Linked DNA regions of Homo sapiens: all the other regions are linked to region 1. The links are contacts of gene promoters, found by promoter capture Hi-C in blood cells and fetal thymus (Javierre and others, 2016). All regions are on one chromosome and are shown on one strand. Each heading gives the region's core, a stretch centred on a gene start or on the middle of the fragment in contact. The rest is flanking DNA. Distances are from core to core; before and after follow the strand shown. Region 1 holds the start of KANSL1L-AS1 (KANSL1L antisense RNA 1). Region 2 overlaps ACADL (acyl-CoA dehydrogenase long chain). Region 3 overlaps ACADL (acyl-CoA dehydrogenase long chain). Region 4 overlaps KANSL1L (KAT8 regulatory NSL complex subunit 1 like). Region 5 holds the start of LOC124907972 (a long non-coding RNA gene).

Region 1 (2,700 bases), core at 201-2,700:
AAATTCTGATTTTAAAATAACCTCTCATGGGAGTTTATAATCCAGAACAGCCACTAATAACACAAAACATCTATGAGTCTACAAACATGAAACAGCATATTCGTAGTTAATTTAGAATTATTTGTGGACTGGTATCTACCCACTTTATGGCAATTAAGTATTTCCCTCCTATGTTCCCTGACTAGTTGTCTTCTACCAATCAGTCCCTGGATGGGATTTAATCTTCAAAGTTGTGTTCTATGCTCAAAATAGGCTAGTGCAAAGTTGCCTTACAGAAACTGTTAACCATTTATGGTACCTACTGTGGAGATGTTGATGCACTGCAGATTCCTCAGGATTTTGAGAAAGTCAACAAGATTCAACTTATATATATATATAAAGCTTTAAAAACATCTAATAAGATGCAACATGAAGTATACATTACCTAAGATATAAAATGTTTCACTTAAATTGACTGACACTTTAGATCTAACTTCAAGTTTGATGTACATACAGGAATAAAATAAAGAAATGTCATACTACAAATAAATAACTAGACAATTCCAAAAGGGTAGGACATCTGGTCCAGCCTGTCAAAAGTCAATGTAATGAAAAATGATTTATTCTAGACTATAAGAAACCTAGGAGACAATGGCCAATTTTTATATATAGATCCTTATCTGAAGAAACTAGCTATAAAGGACTTTTTTTTAACAAATGGAGATATTTAAATATGGACTGGGTATTAGATTTTATATTATGCAGGAAATATTCTCATTTTAAAACACTTGTACTAAAATAAGGGCAGTAAGTAAACGCATACATATATATATTTACTACACACACACACACACACAGTAACTGGGAACCAAAACAGGAAAAAAAAAAAAAAAGAACTTGGAAGATATACAGAAAATACTAACAGAAGTAAACTTCTAATCAATATCCTGAGAGATATGAGAAATTTCATCTATGAAACAAGAACAGGATGCTGTTTTAAAAAAAGAGTACCAGAGAACAAGTACTTTCGGAAACATGTACTTATAATAGCAGAATTTTTTCAAAAAATTAAGAGTGTTCAGAAGACCAAGGACAGATACCTCACATAAATTAGGATAAAAAGTCAGATATGAAAAATGAGATTAGATAAGAAAATTAAGATAGTTCTGGTGGTTCAACTATGAATAGGAGTCACAGGAAACAAGAATAAAGGGATGAGATGAGGGATTATTCAGGGAACAATAAGAAATATATTCGATAAAAACTGCCAAAGCCCCAGAAAATGGAAATAACTTGTGGCATGACTGCAAGTAAGGCTCCTCTTTTTTCATTTCCTTTTTTGTTTTCTAATACACGAATTTAAACACACACACACAAAACAAGGAATCAATCACCTGTCATCTAATTAGGAAAGTAATTCTAATGATATTAGACTTGTTTAATGTGTAACATTCAATGGTTCTTTCCATGGCAGGAGAAAGAACTAAACTTGAAGAATCTGATTTTCAACACACAGAATCAGGATCCCATAGCAATTTTACTGCTGTTTCCAATGTCAACGTTTTATCAAGAATCCAGAATTCATCACGAGTAGGTTTTTCCATATGTTGAACTCTAAAATAGCTTTAAAAATAAAAACACCTGATTTTGAAAATAATTTATATTTTGCTAATCTATAACAGCCTTACTAGCACATATTAACAGACATTTATAACTATCTTGTTAGAAAACAATATATTTGATTCATACAACTTATTTTTAACTATGAAGCTAAAAGTTCATTAATATTTGGTTATAGCTTCTTTTTATGTGTTAAAAATTTAAACATTATCATGATCATCTCTATTCCTTAACATATTAAGCTAAATAAAGTCTTACTAATGAGAATTCAGGACTTTCTTGTTCTTGTCCTGTTTTTTGTTTGTTTGTTTGTTTTTTTGTTATCTGGCCAGGGAATAGAGAGGTCAAAAGGTGGGAGGGTTTAGAAATGAATTCCGAAACTCAGGAACCAGGAATGCATAAATGAAGAGTATACTGAAGGGCTGACCAAAAATGTTTCACTGCCTTTCCTAATAAAAAGTGGTTACTGATCATTTTCATTGACATTTAGGGTGATGTATGTTGGTCTTTTCTGATAAAGAGTTTTGCATTTAAGACCTATTTTTTGTGGTCTTAAAAATAAGCTTGTATGCTTGCACACATAAATACACATTACACATCTACCAAGAGATTGTTCTGATTTACAAAAGATAGAAAAATGTTTTATTTTTTGGTTTTCTTAACATTTTTTAGTCAGACTTTATAACAATGTATTTACAAAAATTATGTAACGTGTACTGCCATATTTACATAACTGATGAAAGGAGGGTATCATTACAAGTAACTAGACAGTACTGTAAATCTACTGTAATCCTGTTTTGCAGAATACTGCACGACGGAGATTGAGAAGTGAGAGCTCTTATGACATAGATAACATTGTGATTCCCATGTCATTAGTAGCCCCAGCTAAATTAGAGAAACTCCAATATAAGGAAATACTTACTCCAAGGTATGTATACTTACATCTTCATATTTTTCTTCCTTCCTTCCCTAATAAACTTAAATTTTCAAAGTGAAGAATTTTAATTAATGAAAGGAGCATCCTTCTCCCAGTTCCTTCATAGCCATGGAGGGGAAACGGTGAAAAAAAAATTACTCGTGCCTTAAGTGTTATATAGTATC
Region 2 (2,893 bases), core at 207-2,706, 180 kb before region 1:
ACCTCCTAGGCTCAAGCTATTCTCCTGCCTCAGCCTCCCAAGTAACTGGGATTACAGGCGCCCGCCACCATGCCCAGCTAATTTTTGTATTTGTAGTAGAGACAGGGATTCAGCAGGTTGGCCAGGCTGGTCTTGGACTCCTGACCTCAGGTGATCCGCCTGTCTTGGCCTCCCAAAGTGCTGGGATTACAGGCATGAGCCACCACACCCAGCTATAGAAGAATTGTTTTAATAAACTATGTACAGACATTAGTTACCGATACTTTATACATACTTATGATGAAAAATATGATGTTAGAATACAATAGCATTCAGGCTGGGCACAGTCTCTTGTTTATAGTGGAGGTCGGTCATATAGGCACCCTCTGCCTGGCATGTACCAAAAGTTCAGATCCCTAAAAGGAAAGCAGGTATTCAGCATAAGCCAAATTGTTTGCGCAAACAGTTCAGACAGTAAGCCACTCTTATGAGTACTGGGAATGGTGGGAACTCTCCTGAAATCCAGATTCTCAGATGTTAGCCACGGACAATGTTGTAACAGGCCTTTCTAAGGATAGCAGTCTCAGGCCTGCTATATTAATTCTTTTCTGTATACTTGGCATTTTAATAATATAATTTAACAAATGTTTATTGAGTGCCCGTTATGTACAAAGCAGCATGCTAGGCACCAAGCATATAAATATGATCTTGATACACCACATGTTCTCAAAAAACTTGAGTCAGATAAGTGTGGTAGGTGGGAAAGATAATTCCTTTTTATTATAATTGAAATTCAAAGTAAATGGCTCTAAGAGAGTATATTTGTTGCTTTATGGCGTCTGTGACAAATTAGCAGAGACTTGGTGGCTTGAGACACAGAAATTTATTCTCTTACAGTTCTGAAGGCTAAAAGTCCAGAATCAGTATTGTTGGGCCCAAATCAAGGTATCAGGAGGGCCACACTTTCTACAGAGGTTATAGGGGAGGATCCACTCCTTTCCTCTTCTATTTCTTGGTGGCTGTTGGCGTTCCTTGCCTTGTTGCCTCGTCACTGCAGTCTTTGCCTTTGTGGTCACATTGCCTTCTCTTCTGTCTATGAAATCTCTCTTTACCTCTCTTTTATAAGGACATTCATGTTTGCATTTAGGGCTCATCCAGATAATTCATGATAGTCTCTCTATCACAACATCCTTAAATTAATCACATCTGCAAGATTCTTTTTCCATGTAAGGTACAACAGCCTCTAGGGTATAGGACCTGATATCTTTAGGGTCATTATTCAGCCTAATACAGAGAGTGATTTAAAAAAAAAAAAAATGCAACCAGGTGCGGTGGCTCACGCCTGTAATCCCAACACTTTCGGAGGCCAAGGTGTGCAGATCAACTGAGGTCAGGAGTTCAAGACCAGCCTGGCCAACATGGTGAAACCATGTCTCTACTAATAATACAAAAAACTTAGCCAGGCATGGTGGCATACGCCTGTAATCCCAGATACTGGGGAGGCTGAGGCAGGAGAATCACTTGAACTGGGGAGGCAGAGGTTGCAATGAACCAAGATTGTGCCATTGCACTCCAGCCTGGGCAACAAGAGAAAAACTCGGTCTCAAAAAAAAAAAAAAAAATGCTGAGGGGCATAAAATAAAAACACCACTGTATTTATTACTCAGTTTTTGCATTGCTATAAAAAATACCTGAAACTGGGTAATTTATAAAGAAAAGAGGTTTAAGTGGTTCACAGTTCCACCAGCTGTATAGGAAGCATGGCTTGGGAGGCCTCAGGAAACTTACAGTCATGGCAGAAGGCAGAGGGGAAGCAGTCATGTCCTACATGGCCAGAGAAGGAGGAAGAGAGAGAAGGGAGATGTGCTACATACACACTTTTAAACAACCAAATCTCATGATAAGTAACTCACTGTCACAAGAACAGCAAGGGGAAAGTCCTTCCCCATGATCCAATCAGCCCACCAGGCCCCCTCCTCCAACACTGAAGATCATAATTGAACATGAGATTTGGGTAGGGACACAGAGCCAAACCATATCACCCACATAAAGAAGACAAATTGGAAAAATTACACAAGTAATGTGGACTGTTTATACACTCTGCTGTTTATTATAGGATATTAATAAAAATTGGGACCTAAGTGTTTTAACAATAGGGGATTATTTCTTAAAATTATGGTAAATCCATGATGATGCTCTATTCAGCTAATAAGAAGTCATTAGATATTGTTAACAGATCAAAATCATATTATATGGTTCCAGTTTTATAAAAATGCATATATATGTATAGTTATGTCCATAGAAAAATATTGGAAAGATATACCTTTAAAATGTTCATTCCAGGAGATAAAATTATTTTTAAAATTATTTTTCTCCTTTGGACTGCTGTGTTCTTAATATTTTATTTACTAATATTTGTTTCTCTTATATTTAGAAAAATAATCTATTCTACACTTAGAGCAGGTTTGTTAGAAAAAAATGGCATTTGAGACATACTCTTTTTTTTTTAGACAAATTCTCACTGTGTTACCCAGACTAGAGTGCAGTGGCCTGATCATGCCTCACTGCAGCTTCAACCTCTCAGGCCCAAGTGATCCTCTCACTTCTGCCTCCCAAGTAGCTGAGACCACAGGCGTGTGCCACCACACCCAACTAATTTTTTAACTTTTTGTAGAGATAGAGTCTAGCTTTGTTGCCCAGGCTGGTCTCAAACTCCCGGGCTCAAGCAGTCCTCCAGCCTCAGTATCCCAAGGTGCTGGGATTATAGGCATGAGCCACCATGCCCTGCCTAATAGCTAAATTTTTGATCAATAGAGACAGGGGAAGGAACCAAGGTGTTTAAAGGCAGCAAAGTACATGGTGACACGTAATCTCAGGGATACAGTGAGGTTTGAAATGTTATGTGAGTCCCACT
Region 3 (2,747 bases), core at 195-2,694, 160 kb before region 1:
TACGACTGTGTACAGCTCCATGGAGGTTGGGGATACATGTGGGAGTACCCAATTGCAAAGTAAGTATAGTTTTCTGATACACTCTTCTTTATGATGTGAAGAAAAAGGAAAATTTCTTTACTTTGTACATCAAATGTAGAGGGAAAGGAGGTGTGCAATCTTTTGAATTTTTCAGCTGAATACAGACAAAATGTATTCAAGCAAATGGAAACAGCTTTTTTTTTATCAACTCCCTACTAGGATTTTATTTTTCTTAAATAAAGTAAAGAGACCAATAAACAAAAGCTTGATCCTTGGCTTTATTTGAATCCTTATGTAGAAGGACAAATAGTATTTTCAAAAATTTTTTAATTTTTTTATTTTTTATTTTATTTTGAGACAGTCTCGCTCTGTCACCCAGGTTGGAGTACAGTGGCATGATCTGGGTTCACTGCAACCTCCACCTTCCAGGTTCAAATAATTCTTGTGCCTCAGTCTCCAGAGTAGCTGGAATTAACAGGTGCGTGCCATGACACCTGGCTAATTTTTTTGTATTTTTAGTAGAGGTGTGGTTTTGCCATGTTGGCCAGGCTGGTCTCAAACCCCTGGCCTCAAGTGATCTGCCTGCCTTGGCATCCCAAAGTACTGGGATTACAGGCGTGAGCCACTGCATCCGGCCAAATACTACTTTTTTTTTAAAACCAAAAAAAAAAAAAAGCAATACAGAAAAATTAACTGGCATATGAAAAGGATCTAAGTTGTCACATATCTTAAATATCTGATTATTTGTTTTGTTCTAAAAAAATTAAAAATCTTCTTTCTAAATAGATTTATTTCCTTCAAATTGAAAGAAATCAAATATATCTTTTTATCATATATGAATATTCTTATCAGTTTGAAGCAGTACTAATTTGTAAATAGGCAGTGTCCCCATTCATATTTCTTCCTCAATCTCCAGAATTTCCTTTTCTCCTAACAGTCTTTTGCCTCAGAAGTCTCCCCATAGCTTTTTTTCCTCATCACCCTAGAAAATATATTTTTCTGATTATTTAGCAATGATTTTGGTTTAGAAAATTTTCCCAAGGAAATTTTTTATTTATACAGAAAAGTTCAGTTTGTTCTGAATCTGAGAGTAAGAATGCTATAGGCTTCTAAAAATGTTTTAAGATTATCTTAATATAAAGTATCTAAAGGGAAAAATTATGAAACCTACATTCAAACTGGCAGCCTAATGATTTCAAATTTATCTTTTTGGTAAGTATAATTGGAAACATTTAATATGCTTATAGTCCTTAGAAAAAATATTTTACTAAAATTACATTAAGAACAGAAGCTATGTAGTGGCTCAATGTTTGTGTGGTTTAGTTCACATTTAAGAAAGGCCTATTAGGTGGGGAGAAGGCAATCATCTAAATGGCTTAAGATTAGAGCGTGGCATAAGCCTTGGTCTCTGTTTTCTCGGAGTCAACTCCTTCAAGTTGGTACCAAGCAAACAATGTAGATTGATGGCTTATTTGAAATCTCTGGTTTCAGTTTGAGAGACTTATATTCTCTTTAAGAAACAATAATCACCTTTCTTGGCCAGTTTGTTAGTTCAAAGATTGTATCAATTTTTAAACTAGACTGCTATTTCTCTTCCCATATATCGCCTAATATCAAAAAAGCCACTGAGGCCACGTGCGGTGGCTCACTCCTGTAATCCCAGCACTTTGGGATGCCAAAGCGGGTGGATCACCTGAGGTCAAGAGTTCAAGACCAGCCTGGGCAAAATGGCGAAACACCATTTCTACTAAAAATACAAAAAAATTAGCTAGGCGTGGTTGCAGGTGCCTGTAGTCCCAGCTACTCCAGAGGCATGAGAATCGCTCTAACCCGAGAGGCGGAGGTTGCAGTGAGTCGAGATTGCGCCACTGCACTCCAGCCTGGGCGACAGAGTGAGACTGTCTCAAAAAAAAAAAAACAAACAACAACAACAACAACAAAAAAGCCACATAGACACATTGGCAATATGTGGATGTAATGTATAGATTTTGATTTGATAAAAAAAGAAAAATCTTCTAATTGTGTTTCTTATATCCCCCAGACTAAACTACATTAGTTTATATATATGTTGCTGAGGGTTGGTTTCATAGATAAGAGGTGTTTTCTCTGCTTTTTTATTTTGTTTTTTTGTTTTTGTCTTCTTTAATAACTGGTCTTCAGCATGTGGGTTTATTTAATAAGTCTTACTCATTAGGCTCGAGCCCGTGAGGAGTGAGATTTAAGCCTTGTCATTTTAAGATTTCTCTGCCATGCTGGGAAGAGCTGCCTTAGATGTAGAACTTCACTGCAGTGTGGTTAAACATTTCTGCTGCCGCCTTTCACTGTTAATTTTAGTTGATGACTAAATTTAATTAGTAACATATAAAAGGTCTACTAATCTCTGCTTTACTCCATTGGAACTTCTTTAATGTAAAAAGAAGCCTAGCCCATTTACAAATATATATATATATATCTAAACGCATTGGGACTGCTGAAGTAGGCTTACAGTAGGTAAGTGCTCAAAATGCAGGTGCTAGATTTTGTAGAGAATAGCAAAATCCGTTCAGAAAAAAATGTTTGAAAACATAAATATCTCAAGCTTTTAAAGCTTTCAGCAGAAAGTTCTGAGATTGTAAATTTCCTTTGTAACACCGTAAATCATATCAGTAAATATTTACTGAGTGTCCATTTCTTTGTAAGGAACCCTGATGAATATGGAGAAGAATAAGTCCAAAAGTGGTATGTTC
Region 4 (2,786 bases), core at 94-2,593, 130 kb before region 1:
TTAAGAAACAAGGTTTCTACATTTAATTGCCTTGCTATCTTTGTCAAAATAATCAGGCCAGGCGCAGTGGCTCACCCCTGTAATCCTAGCACTTTGGGAGGCTGAGGTAGGCAGATCACCTGAGGTCAGGAGTTTAAGACCAGCCTGGCCAACATGGTGAAACCCCATCTCTACAAAAATACAAAAATTAGCCGGGCATGATGGCGGGTACCTGTAATCCCAGCTACTTGGGAGGCTGAGGCGGGAGAATCACTTCAACCTGGGAGGCGGAGGTTGCGGTGAGCCGAGATCACGCCATTGCACTCCAGCCTGGGCGACAGAGTGAAACTCCGTCTCAAAAAAAAAAAAAAAAAAAAATTGGCCGTATGTGCGTGGGTCTGTTCCTGAGCTCTGTTTTTTTCCATATATGTGTTCATCCTTTTGCTAATGCCACACTGTCTTGTCTACTAGAAATTGGTAAGTTGTGTGAATCCTTCAACTTTGTTCTTTTCCAAATTGTTTTGGCTATTCTGGTTCCTTTAACTTTCATATAAATCTTTGAATTAGCTTGTAGATATCAGCAAAATGTCCTGCCAAGATTTTGTATCTAAACTTATAAATCAGTTTGAGGAGAATTAGCATCATAACAATATTGAATAGTTTTATCTGTGAACATAGTGTAATGCACTATTTAGGTCTTGATATTTTTATGGGTGTTTTGTATTTTTCAGTATAAAGACCATGTGCATCATCTTGTGTTTAGATTTATACCAAAGCATTTTTGCAGGTGTTGGAATTATTACTGTTTAAAAATTTCTATTTCTAGTTTTTTATTTCTAGCATATAGAAATATAAATGAGTTTTGTAGGTTGACCTTGTGTTTGCTGCCTTATTAAATTCATTAGTCGAGGAGTTCAATCCCTTGGGATTTTCTATGTAGAAAATCACGTCATCTGTGAATAGAGACAGTTTTACTTACTTTCTAATCTGTGCTTTTTATTTCTTTTTTTTTTCTTGCTCTACAGCACTAACTAGGTCCTCCAGTACAACATTGAGTATGAGTGGTGAGAAATGTCTACCTTGCCTCATTCCCAGTCTTAGGGCAGAAACATTCAGTCTTTCACCATTAATTATGATGTGAGCTATAGGCATTTGTGTACATGCTTTTTATCAGATTAAAGACATTCCCTCTCCTTCCTAATTTGCTGAGTTTTTCTCATGAATGGATATTGAATTTTGTCAAATGCTTTTTCTCCATTTATTGACATCATATGGTTTCTCTTTAGTCTATTGATATGGTGAATTTTAGTTATTGTTTTCTTTTTTTTGAGACGGAGTCTCGCTCTGTCACCCAGGCTGGAGTGCAGTGGCGTGATCTCGGCTCACTGCAAGCTCCACCTCCCGGGTTCACACCATTCTCCTGCCTCAGCCTCCCGAATAGCTGGGACTACAGGTGCCCACCGCCACACCCAGCTATTTTTTTTGTATTTTTAGTAGAGACGGGGTTTCACCTTTTTAGTCAGGATGGTCTCGATCCGCCTGCCTCGGCCTCCCAAAGTGCTGGGATTATAGGCGTGAGCCACCGCGCCCGGCCTGTTGTTTTCTTTAATGTTGAACCAGTCTTGTGTTCATGAAATAAGCCATACTTGAACATAGTATCCTTTCTATATTTTGTTGTTTTGTACAATTAAAAAATAGTAATTGAAATAGGTGTTGTTACTACTTGTGAGTACCAAAATCCTGAAATGCCTTTAAATATCATGATCAATTAATTTATGAATTTAGTCAACAAATACATGATAATTACTGTGTGCCAGGCATTATTCTAGTGCTGGAGATTAGATCATTGAGTTCTTGCACTTAAACTACATTCTTTCCTAGAATGTAATATAATGTCAGGTGGCAATAGTGCTATGAAGAGCAATAAAGCAGTGTAAGGGAATGGAGAGTCATGAACCAAGAGGCTGAAGCTATTTAAAATATATTGGTCAGGGAAGGACTCTGATGAGGTGACCTTAGAGCAGAAGTAAATGAAGTGAGGGAGCCAGCCATCTTATTTGTAAAAAATTGTTTCAGGCTGAGAGAATAGCAAACACAAAGTCACTGTGTCAAGAGACTTGCTTGGTGTGTTTCAAATACAGCATAGAGGCCGGTGTTTCTGGAGTGCAGTAATTCATGGAAAGAGTTGTAGAAGGCAAAGTAGTCAGGAACCTGATAATACCAATTTTGTAGGCTATCGTAAGGACAACTTTGGATTTTAAATATACTGGCAACCACTCATTTTCTCACCAGGTTATTTGTTGCGCATCTTCTGTATGTCAAATAGATTTGCATGTTGAGGATACAGTAGTTAACAAAACTGTTCAAAAATCCAAGCCTTTAATAGAGCTTAGAAGTGTTAGTGATAAGTGTAGTTGTTTATATAATATGGAGGTCGTCAGAAGTGGTAGTTTAGAATATTCAGTTGGGAAACATTGTTATGTAAAATGATTATATATCTAGATAATTTAAATAATTGGAAGAAATGTACTTATATTTTGTGCTAAAACTATACTGAACATAATTTAATCTTTTTTATTTATAGGAGACATAGCTATTTTCATTAGTTTCTTTTGGTTGCAAAGTAGAGAGACTTACTTAGGCTAGGTTTTTTTTTTTTTTTATAAGGATACACTTGGGAATAGAATACAGAAGGACTTAATGGAAATCCCTGAATAAGAGCTATGATATGTCCCGGACTTTCATAGACTAGAGCTTAAAAGTCTTCATATCCAAGTGTATTCATTATTTATTACTGTGTAGTATAT
Region 5 (2,744 bases), core at 210-2,709, 200 kb before region 1:
CAAGATGGTGCCACTTCACTCCAGCCTGAGCGAAAGAGCGAAACTCCGTCTAGAAAAAAGGGGGGGCTTTGTTCATTTCTGTTTATAATATCTGGAAGATCGCCTGGCATGTAGGCATGTATAAGGCTTTCAATAAATACTTGTTGAATGAATTAACGGACAAGCAGATGAGTGAAATAGAAAAGTCTACAAATAGACCTAAATACATAAGGGAATGCAAATGATAGAGTTCATATTTTAAATCAGCAGAAAACATGGATTATTGCAATGAACTGAATGTTTATGTCCCCCTGAAAATTCATATGTTGAGAAACCCTAACTCCCAATGATACAGAAGGGCTGGACTCCTGGGTAAACCCCACCCTTAAGCTTGAAACCTCAACCCTAAGTGAAGACAACTGACCCTGTTTTTCTGCCCAAATGTTGCCTTTTTGGCTTGCCCCTGCCTCTATCTTATGCCCATGAAAGACTTCAGCTGGCATGGCAACACAAGCAGCTGAGCATCAGTGATATAAGTGGCTGAGCGTCAATAATACAAGTGGCTGAGGAGCAAATAGAGAAACAACTGAGTGTCAGAGACTACAGGTAGACATGACTAACTTCAGACCTTGTGGCTTCAGAGAGGGGACCAGCTGAAGATGGCTGGGCTTCAGGGAGTGATCATCTTTCCATCCCCTTTCCAGTTTCCCTTTCCACTGAGAGCCGGCACCGCTCAATAAAGTCTTCCATATTCATCACCTTTCAAACAGTTCATGTGACCTGATTCTTCCTGGATGCTGGGCAAGAACCCAGGTGCCGAGAGGGCAGGGGCTGCCACCCTGACCCTCCACTAAGCTGGTTGGCACTTGGCCATCCTGGATGCAGAGCTGAAAGAGCATTGGTTGAATACACTTGAACACCACTACAGGGTTCGCACGGAGCCTGCTCCCACCAGAGAGGAATGCCCAGCGGATTCCAGCATTCAGTTCACTCAAGTTTCCACACTTGGTTGCTTGCATACTCTCTCCCACAAGGAGTGGCCAGCGATGGGTTGAATGAAACGAGCCACTCCAGTTCCTGCCTGCAAAGGGGGTCAAGAGCACTGTCCCGTCTCATCAAGGGTATTAAAAGGTGGAGTTGGCCAGGCGCAGTGGCTCACACCAGCAATCCCAGCACTTTGGGAGACCTAGGTGGGCGGATCACCCGAGGTCGGGAGTTCAAGACCAGCCTGACCAACATGGAGAAACCCAGTGTCTACTAAAAATACAAAATTAGCTGGGCGTGGTGGCGCATGCCTGTAATCCCAGCTACGCCAGAGGTTGTGGCAGAAGAATCTCTTGAACCCAGGAGGTGGAGGTTGCGCAGAGCAGATGCTTCTTTCTCTTGATTGAAAGAAAGGAAGGATGGGCATGTAGATATATTTGAGAGAGGAGATGGGAAGTTGAAGAAGTTTGCAGCAAATTGAGATAAGCACAGGATGGCTAGTTTTGAAAGAAAATAAATAAAGCTCTTGAATTAAAAATGTGATTCATGGCCCACATAGTTTTAGTTCATAAGCTGACACTCAACAATATTAACATTAAATTATAGATTAATTTGACTAAATATTTTCCCTTTGATAAAGACACCTATCACCCAAGGAATGTACTTTACAGAAGTAATAACTTTCAGTTTCATGTGGAGTTTAAGCAAATACATTCAGGTTTCTATGGAAATAATGTTAAACCTATGTACTCAAATAAAGCTAAAAGTGTTGTGTTTTGTTTTTTTCTGTTTGTTTGTTTCTGAGACAGGGTCTCACTCTGTCACCCAGGCTGGACTGCAATGGCGCAATCTCGGCTCACAGCAGCCTTGACCTCCTGGGCTCAGGTGATCTTTGCACCTCAGCCTCCTGAGTAGCGGGGACTGCAGGCATAGGCCACCAAGCCTGGCTAATTTTTGGTAGATATAGGGTTTTGCCATGTTTCCCAGAGCCTGGCCTAGAACTTCTGGACTCAAGCAATCCACCTGCTTTGGCCTCCCAAAGTATTGGGATTACAGGAGTGAGCCACCGTGTCTGGCCTTAAAAGATTGTTAAATGGAGACCAGGTGGAATTACTATGGCAAAGGGCATGTATTGCCAGCAAAATCTTCCCATGAAGGCTTATCTTACCCTAAATACAAATCAGCTATGAAGAGGAATAATTCTGTATTATGCAAGCAAAATGGTTTAGCAATCATCCTTGTGACATTGTCCAAGATCTATATTACAGAATTACAGATGCTTAGATTTCTTTAGTCTAAGACTGTAATGCACTAAAACTTATGCAACACTTCTATATTTGATTAGATAAGTTTTGCTTTGCACCAGGGGAAATAAATAAATACTTTTTCTAATGAGCTCTGTATACAATGACTATAAAAAAAAAAAAAAGGAGAGCCCTAGAAGATAAATTTTATAACTTTTCTTTTACTTTGAGCAGTTTTTCCTTATAAATGTGTATGATTAATATTTTGGTCATATTATATTATAGGTATGGCTCATAGAGAAGCAATTTAGAAGCAGATTAGGGTTTGAAGTTGGAAGCTTAAACAAATCCATTCTTAATCCTGACAATAAAGTTTACTGTCAAAATTGTTGGTTACAGATACTTAAATTGCTATTTATTTTTTTAAAGAAAATGTTCCAAAACATAAAACAGTAACTAGTTTTGAGACCATTGTCCTCTATAAGGGAAAAGAAAATATTTCAGACACATTTAACAGATGCCAATTTCAGTTTCTCA

Evidence for each region. Contacts are between HindIII fragments. The CHiCAGO score rates a contact against its expected background, and 5 or more counts as called.
Region 2: a fragment that was not itself captured here is called in contact with the fragment with the promoter of KANSL1L-AS1 in region 1 in 8 of 17 cell types (neutrophils, non-activated CD4 T cells, total CD4 T cells and 5 more); the score reaches 10.7 in neutrophils.
Region 3: a contact is called between a fragment that was not itself captured here and the fragment with the promoter of KANSL1L-AS1 in region 1, in 16 of 17 cell types (naive CD4 T cells, neutrophils, naive CD8 T cells and 13 more). The highest score is 18.9, in naive CD4 T cells.
Region 4: a fragment that was not itself captured here is called in contact with the fragment with the promoter of KANSL1L-AS1 in region 1 in 16 of 17 cell types (activated CD4 T cells, neutrophils, naive CD4 T cells and 13 more); the score reaches 12.4 in activated CD4 T cells.
Region 5: a fragment that was not itself captured here is called in contact with the fragment with the promoter of KANSL1L-AS1 in region 1 in 4 of 17 cell types (neutrophils, monocytes, fetal thymus and 1 more); the score reaches 9.2 in neutrophils.

The regions. Positions count from the first base shown.
Region 1 is chr2:210,028,672-210,031,371 of GRCh38, reverse strand. It overlaps KANSL1L-AS1 (KANSL1L antisense RNA 1), which reads right to left and starts at 1,450. Exons shown (of 5, transcript NR_110291.1): 1 at 1,374-1,450. It overlaps KANSL1L (KAT8 regulatory NSL complex subunit 1 like), which reads left to right. Exons shown (of 15, transcript NM_152519.4): 10 at 1,454-1,569; 11 at 2,403-2,527. The HindIII fragment of the contact is 1,781 bases long and covers 384-2,164 here.
Region 2 is chr2:210,210,539-210,213,431 of GRCh38, reverse strand. All of the region lies in intron 4 of ACADL (acyl-CoA dehydrogenase long chain), which reads left to right. Among named protein-coding and RNA genes, the nearest start is that of ACADL, 13 kb to the left of the region's middle. The HindIII fragment of the contact is 4,262 bases long and covers 1-2,893 here.
Region 3 is chr2:210,190,116-210,192,862 of GRCh38, reverse strand. ACADL (acyl-CoA dehydrogenase long chain) reads left to right here. Exons shown (of 11, transcript NM_001608.4): 10 at 1-59. Among named protein-coding and RNA genes, the nearest start is that of KANSL1L, 20 kb to the right of the region's middle. The HindIII fragment of the contact is 2,314 bases long and covers 288-2,601 here.
Region 4 is chr2:210,158,557-210,161,342 of GRCh38, reverse strand. All of the region lies in intron 1 of KANSL1L (KAT8 regulatory NSL complex subunit 1 like), which reads left to right. Among named protein-coding and RNA genes, the nearest start is that of KANSL1L, 11 kb to the left of the region's middle. The HindIII fragment of the contact is 3,036 bases long and covers 1-2,786 here.
Region 5 is chr2:210,226,953-210,229,696 of GRCh38, reverse strand. It overlaps LOC124907972 (a long non-coding RNA gene), which reads right to left and starts at 1,115. Exons shown (of 2, transcript XR_007088064.1): 1 at 608-1,115. The HindIII fragment of the contact is 2,176 bases long and covers 372-2,547 here.